Regions from separate parts of the Homo sapiens genome. Here region 1 is linked to region 2. Evidence: promoter capture Hi-C in 16 types of primary human blood cells and fetal thymus (Javierre and others, 2016). All regions are on one chromosome and are shown on one strand. Each heading gives the region's core, a stretch centred on a gene start or on the middle of the fragment in contact. The rest is flanking DNA. Distances are from core to core; before and after follow the strand shown.

Region 1 (3,977 bases), core at 1,125-3,624, 120 kb after region 2:
CCAACCCAACCACCCTAACCACTACCACCACCACCTTTACCATTACCATCTCCATCATCATCACTAACATAACCACCTTAACAACCACTACCACTACCGCCTTCACCACTGTCATCTCCATCATTATCACCAACACAACCACCCTAACAATCACTACCACCACCACCTTCTTCACTATCATCTCCATCATCATCACCAACACAACCACCTTAACCACTACCATCACCACCTTCACCACTATCATCTCCATCATCATACCACCACAACCACTTCTACCACTACCATCTCCATCATTATCACCAACAGTCACCCTAACAAACACTACCATCACCATCACCCCTGTCATCTCCATCATTATCACCAACCCAACCACCCTAACAACCACTACCACCCCCACCTCCACCACTGTCATCTCCATCATCATCATCACCAACACAACCATAACCACCTTAACAAACACTACCACCACCACCTCCACCACTATCATCTCCATCATTATCATCACCAACACAACCACCCTAACAACCACTACCACCCCCACCTCCTTCACTATCATCACCGTCACCAACACAGTCCCCTTCACCACCACCACCACCTCTACCACTGTCATCTCCATCATCATCACCAACACAACCACCCTAACAGCCACTCCCACTCCCACCTCCTTCACTATCATCACCATCACCAACACAACCACCTTTACCACCACCACCACCTCTACCACTGTCATCTCCATCATCATCATCACCAACACAACCACCTTCACCACCACCTCTACTGTCATCTCCATCATCATCACCAGCACAACCACAACCACCTTAACAAACACTACCACCACCACCTCCACCATCATCTCCATCATCATCATCATCACCAACACAACCACCCTAACGACTACCACCCCCACCTCCTTCACTATCATCACCATCACCAACACAGTCACCTTCACCACCACCACCACCACCTCTACCACTGTCATCTCCATCATCATCATCACCAACACAACCACCTTCACCACCACCTCTACTGTCATCTCCATCATCATCACCAACACAGCCACCCTAACAACCACTACCACCACCACCTCTACTATCTCCATCATCACCAACACAACCACCTTAACAACCACTACCACCCCCACCTCCTTCACTATCATCACCATCACCAACACAGTCCCCTTCACCACCACCACCACCTCTACCACTGTCATCTCCATCATCATCACCAACACAACCACCCTAACAGCCACTCCCACCTCCTTCACTATCATCACCATCACCAACACAACCACCTTTACCACCACCACCACCTCTACCACTGTCATCTCCATCATCATCATCACCAACACAACCACCTTCACCACCACCTCTACTGTCATCTCCATCATCATCACCAGCACAACCACAACCACCTTAACAAACACTACCACCACCACCTCCACCATCATCTCCATCATCATCATCATCACCAACACAACCACCCTAACGACTACCACCCCCACCTCCTTCACTATCATCACCATCACCAACACAGTCACCTTCACCACCACCACCACCTCTACCACTGTCATCTCCATCATCATCACCAACACAACCACCTTCACCACTGTCATCTCCATCATCACCACCAACACAGCCACCCTAACAACCACTACCACCACCACCTCTACTATCTCCATCATCACCAACACAACCACCTTAACAAACACTACCACCACCACCTCCACCACTATTATGTCCCTCATCCTCACCACCACTACCAACAACACATCTATCACAGCATGACCTCTACCACCATTGTCCCTGTCACCCTCTCCGTTGCCCTTACCTCCGCCACCCCCACCACTCCCAGTGCTATCACAGCCATCAACAGCACCAGCACCAGCACCAGCACCGTCAAGGGGTCAAGTGAATTTCCTGATTATCCTGAGTTGTTTTCTAATCTATCTACTTATTGGCCTCTCACCCTCTTCCTGTCGAGACTGAAATGACAGTGCTTCCTTTGCCTAGCTCATAGGAATATTTATGGAGGGTCAGTGGGCATGGCTTCTGTCCTTACTATGTAGGCCTTGAGTAGTAGCTTAGGTGTGATAGAAATGGAAGGTCCTCAGTGTTGCTTCAGGATAAAGCCTTCACAGTGTTGAATTTGGATTCTGCAGATTGAATCTAATGTGCAGTATGGTTTGAACAGTTAGTACCAAACTCTGTTCCTAGGGGGTATTATATCTATTGAGATGTTCAAATCTGGGTCAGTTCTTTCACTATATTTGGAAGATTTTCAGTCACATGGGAAGCTTTTCAAGGCTTGATTATTAATCATGCTGCTTAGATCATGAATCATGAAATTATTTAGTACTGTTTCTAGTACGTGTGTATTTTAATACTTTTTTTTTGCCCTTTTTTGCCCTTTTTTTTTTTAAACAGATGTAGCTAATGTTACCTAAGATGTGCACGAACAAAGCTTATATATGTTTATAGGCTAAACAATGTGAAATCACTGGAAAAGCTAGGAGGTATTTTGTGTATGTTCTGGTAAACCCATCTGTAATCCATACACCCACCCACCCCCTCCGCACACACACCCCTGAATGATTGAATATGTGTACGTACACATGACGCGTGTACATTTAGTAAAGTTAAGCAAAGCAGTGACGGATCCAGGGCGTTCCCACTGTGCACCTGTGCAATGACTTGACCAGGGTTCAGCTGACGGCAGGCTTGGTGACCTTGAAGCTTTTCAGCTTCTCTCCCATCTTTGGCATTTGTATTCCTCCTGATACTTCGCTTAAGAGTAAGTTTCAGAAGGCTTCAGAATCTTTTTCCATGAAATAAGGCCTTCTAGACCCAGCTGGGAAAAAGATTAGAAGACATGGGAAATGTCCAACATTTTACGTGTAGGATTTTTTTGGAGAGAGCGAGGAGAAGGAGTGTGTGTGTGCAGGGTGTCTTTATCTATAGCTGAAAAATGGCCTCTTGTATTTCCAGGAGGCTTTAGGCCACTCTAAATGGTTTGTCACAGAAGGAGGATCATCTCGCCTTCCTAGACACACACCCTATGTCACTTGTAATAAAAATGCTCCCATCAAGAAAATATATTCCTGCATTACATGCCAAAACACAAGCAGAAATCTTGGAGACTCTCAGTGGTTTAGGGAATTAATCTCTTATGGAGAAGCCTTCTCTACCAGAAATGGTGGAAAATGTAATTTAAATCATAAAAGGTCTGAAGTGGAGTGAGTTTGGTGTTGACTAGTCCCAAGAAACCCCCTGGGAAAGGTGTGGAGCTGCCCGCATGCCTCCTGCTGCCTTGCTGGGGGGCTCAGGCCCACCTGGACAGCTGGCTCTTCAGCTTCCTTGCCCTGTCTGGGGAGGTGGGGCCCTGACTTACAAAGGGAGGCCGTGGTGTCTCCTGCCTGTGGCTCTGACACTGGAGGGGTCCTTGTGGCCCCTAACAGGCTTGCCGCATGCAGCAGAGTGTTCTGAGAGTGTGGAGTGGCTGTGGAACTCCAAGGACTCTCTGCTTCTTTGCTTCTTGGTCTGTTTTGGCAAGCAGCAAGGAAGGTAGTTTCAGGCTTGAGTGATGACTAGTCAGTAAAATAGGTGTACTAATTTGAGGACTATCATTTTTGTCCCATTGAATTTCTTGGGACACTGTCTGTGGTTGCAGCGTAGAAGAATCTTTAAGTCAGGCAAGGGCCCAGGACAAGCTGGACAAAGTGTTTGGCTGGGAAGCGTATTCTCTCTCTTTTTTTTTTTTTTTAGAGAGAGAACTTAGATGAAATGATGACTGAAATGTACACTTTCAGTGTTTTACTCAGTTGAAACAATGGTGCCTTCGAAGGGCTCGCTGTTAGCTGAAGCTGAAATGTCTTTATCACAACCCCTGAGATGCTCCCACTGCTCTGGTCACGCTTCACGCTGGCCCCTGCACTCCTGGCCCTTTTGTTTAGCCCCGCATCAGACTCTGTGATGTCAGAC
Region 2 (4,201 bases), core at 808-3,307:
GCAGGAGAATTGCTTGAACCTGGGAGGTGGGGGTTGCGGTGAGCTGGAGATCGCACCACTGCGCTCCAGCCTGGGCAACAAGACAGAAATTAGTCTCAAAAAATAAAGGAAAGTCACAGAGGGGCAACAGCCATAGAGCAGTGGGGCCAAGATTCCAATCTAGGCAGGCTAGCGCTCTTGACGGTCGTACTAAGAATAAAAAAGGGGGGTGGGTGCAGTGGCTCACGCCTGTAATCCCAGCACTTTAGGAGGCCGAGGCAGGTAGACCACCTGAGGTCGGGAGTTTGAGACCAGCCTGGCCAACATGGCGAAATCCTATCTCTACTAAAAATACAGAAATTAGTTGGGCGTGGTGGCACACGCCTGTAGTCCCAGCTACTTGGGAGGCTGAGTCAAGAGGATCGCTTGAACCCAGGAGGCAGAGGCTGCAGTGAGCCGAGATCGCACCACTGCACTCCAGTCCACAGGTGTGGACCCCAACAGGAGGAATGAGTGTAGCTCACTCAGAGTCTGGGGTGGGCCAGGCTTTCTACACGCATCGTGTCATCCTTCCATGGCCCTGGAGAGAAAGTCTGGCCACCCCCATCTCGAGATAAGGACACAGAGGCTTGGGGGTGAAGACCTGCCGAGGCTCCACCTCAGCAAGCGTCAGTCGGACTGCATGCCTGGGGTCTGGCTCCTAAGCCCATGCTCTTTCAATGGCCCAAACATGGAATGCATGGAAGATTTCAGTTAGAAGAGAACTTGGCAGCTGCCAAAGCAGGCTCTCATTCTACGGAGGAAGCACCTGAGACCCAGAAAGAGGAAGGGCCTCGTTCAAGGTCACAAGGCACTGACCATGAAGCCAGGAGGGGCTGGCACGGGGCAGTTTCTTGGCAGAGCTGGCTGAGTGGTTTATTTGTTACAGGTTTGCTTGAAAGCGTTCTCTGCCGAAGAGTTTAGGAGCGATCGTGACTGGTTAGTGCAGCCCATTCCGCCGGGTCTGGATGGTGAGTCGTGCCAGTGTGTCCCGTGCGAACACGGACTACCCGCCTGCTCCCAGCATCTTGCCCTCCCCAGGACCCCTGAAACGGAGGCTAAATGATTCACCCAAGGTCACCAAATACAAGAGAAACGGAGTGTGGCCAGGCGCGGTGGCTCACGCCTGTAATCCTAGCACTTTGGGAGGCCAAGGTGGGTGGATCACCTGAGGTCAGGAGTTCGAGACCAGCCTGGCCAACATGGTGAAACCCCATCTCTACCAAAATACAAAAAATTAGCTGGGTGCAGTGGCGGGTGCCTGTAGTCCCAGTTACTTTGGAGGCTGAGGCAGGAGAATCACTTGAACCTGGAGGGCAGAGGTTGCAGTGAGCCGAGATCATGCCATTGCACTCTAGCCTGGGCAAAAGAGCAAAACTTCATCAAAAAAAGAAAAAAGAGGGCCGGGCGCCGTGGCTGATGCCTGCAATCCCAGCACTTTGGGAGGCTGAGACAGGCGGATCGCGAGGTTAGGAGTTCGAGACCAACCTGGCTAACACAGTGAAACCCTGTCTCTACTAAAAATACGAAAAATTAGCCAGGAGTGGTGGCATGCACCTATAGTCCCAGCTACTCAGGAAGCTGAGGCAGGAGAATCGCTTGAACCCGGGAAGTGGAGGTTGTGGTGAGCTGAGATCACGCCACTGTACTCCAGCCTGGGCCACAGAGCGAGACGCCATCTTAAAAAAAAAAAAAAAAAAACGGAGTGGAAATCTGAACCCATCTGGCTCGGGACGGTCTCTCCTCTCTCCTCTCGAAAGACCCCATCAGCTAAGACAAGGATCCAGTCGCATCTTAGGAAATTTGAGGCTCTACTTACAAGTGTTATTGCTGGTTTGCCATGCACAGGAACGCTGAGAACACCATCGCCCTGGCCTCATCGAACGACTCCAGAGAGGGGCCCACATCTGCTCAACCAAGAAGGAGAAAGCTGAGGTCTTCCAAGTGTTCCTCCCCAACATCTTGGGTCTGTTCCCACTGACTCCAGTCTGAAGAGGGTGATGTTCCCTGCTGTCTGTTCTCACTTTGATCAGGACCACTGTGGACTGGCGTGTACCCACCTCTTTTTGTAGAAACTCATCCCAACCCCTGAGCCTAATGGTTAAAGTTCAACCCATGCCTTTCCCAACAGGGTGGGTCCACAGGGATTAGTGGCCTCTGCTGGGGACAGGCCACTCAGGTCACTGGGCTTTGATCTGGCAAACAGGAGCACAAGTCTGCCAGGGAGCTAGAAAAACTGTACGGTGGGGCTGCGTGAGCACCAGGGGATTACGCGGGAGGCGGGGGCGAGTGGATGAGAGCAGAGTCCCTGTTTCTTTCATGGGGTTGACCGTGTGGTTTGGGGCTCCGGGACACTCAATACCAGGCACAAAGCCATGGTGTGCATGTGAGGAGGGACTGGCAGGCAGGCTCAGAAGTACAGGAATGGGACTGGCCAAAGCGCTGCTGGGTAGACAGGCCAGGGGAGCAGGGAGCTTCTGTCCACCCACCAGGGCTCCTGAAGTCATGGAGTCCTTGCTTGCCTTAAAATAGGTGCGATTTGATTCATTCATCCTCCCCGGAAGCAAGATGCCCTGTGGCTTCGGACACTTCCAGGTCATGCCTGCTGTCTTGGCATAAACATTAACAGGGCCACCTTTCTTTCTTTCCTTTTCTTTTTTTTTTTAGACAGAGTTTCACTTCTGTTGCCCAGGCTAGAGTGCAATGGCGTGATCTCGGCTCACTGCTACCTCTGCCTCCCAGGTTCAAGCAATTCTCCTGCCTCAGCCTCCTGAGTAGCTGGGATTACAGGCGCCCACCACCATGCCCAGCTAATTTTTTGTATTTTTAGTAGAGATGGGGTTTCACCACGTTGGCCAGGCTGGTGTTGAACTCCTGACCTCAGGTGATCTGCCTGCCTCGGCCTCCCAAAGTGCTGGGATTACAAGTGTGAGCCACTACGCCCAGCCTCTTTTCTTCGTTTCTTTTCTTTTCTTTCTTTCTTTTTTTGAGATGGAGTCTCGCTCTGTTGCCCAGGCTGGAGTGCAATGGCGTGATCCTGCCTCACTGCAACCTTTGCCTCCCAGGTTTAAGCAATTCTCCTGTCTCAGCCTCCTGAGTAGCTGGGATTATAGGCACACACCACCACAACGGCCAATTTTTTGTATTTTTAGTAGAGACGGGGTTTCACTGTGTTCCCCAAGCTGGTCTCGAACTCCTGAGCTCAGGCAATCCACCCACCTCGGCCTCCTAAAGTGCTAGGATTACAGGCATGAGCCACTGCGTCCAGCCTCTTTTCTTTTCTTTCTTTCTTTCTTTCTTTCTTTCTTTCTTTTTTTTTTTTTTTTTGAGGTGAGGTCTTGCTCTGTCACCCAAGGTGGAGTGCGGTGGTGCCATCATGGCTCACTGCAGTCTCAATCACCCAGGCTCAAGTGATCCTCCCTCCTCAGCCTCCCAAGTAGCTGGGACTATAGGTGCATGCCATTATGTCCAGCTAATTTTAAAAATTATTTGTAGAGGCAGGTTCTCGCCATGTTGCCCAGGCTGGTCTTGAACTCCTGGGCTCAAGCAATCCTCCCAGAGTGGCCTCCCAAAGTGCTCGGATTACAGGCATGAGCCACTGCCCCTGGCCTGGTACCTCCCTTCATGCCCAGGGTCCACATGGGTATGTTAGCTGGTCACTCTAGCCAGGCAGCTGGTGATATTTGCAGACGCCAACCCACAAAGAACCTTCCTTTGGGTCCTTTGAGCGGCACAGCAGTTTATTCACCCAGACACCTTTTACCTGTGAAATGGAACCCATGGGATTGGGATGCACCAGTTTGTGACTTCTTGTTGTTGTTTAAACTTACAATCTTTTAGGGGGCAGGGCTATCATAACTTTTCATAGAATCCTGGAATCTTAGATCTAGAAAACCCTACAGAACACAGGTGTTGAAATGCGAGTCCACTTGTAGGCTCCTGAAAGCCCAAGAATCCCACTGAAATCCCCCACACAATGGATAGGGTCTGCGGCTTTCGGCCACTGCTCTGGTGGGCCCAAGAGTTTGCTTGCATTTGTTTTGAGCAACAAAAACCAAGTCTGGATGATATGTTCTCTCCTTCCCACACAGTCATGGTGGAAATGCACCCACTCTTGGGAAGTCTGATTCATTGTCATTCATTCATTGACCCACTCACTCATTCATTGACTCACTCACTCACT

The links. The method cuts DNA at HindIII sites, captures the fragments that hold promoters and counts their contacts. A CHiCAGO score of 5 or more calls a contact.
Region 1: a contact is called between a fragment that was not itself captured here and the fragment with the promoter of CA5A in region 2, in 2 of 17 cell types (total B cells and naive B cells). The highest score is 7.0, in total B cells.

The regions. Positions count from the first base shown.
Region 1 is chr16:88,052,718-88,056,694 of GRCh38, forward strand. The region is part of intron 11 of BANP (BTG3 associated nuclear protein); the gene reads left to right. Among named protein-coding and RNA genes, the nearest start is that of BANP, 100 kb to the left of the region's middle. The HindIII fragment of the contact is 167 bases long and covers 2,292-2,458 here.
Region 2 is chr16:87,934,472-87,938,672 of GRCh38, forward strand. It overlaps CA5A (carbonic anhydrase 5A), which reads right to left and starts at 2,058. Exons shown (of 7, transcript NM_001739.2): 1 at 1,838-2,058. The coding sequence starts at 1,979. The HindIII fragment of the contact is 28,449 bases long and covers 1-4,201 here.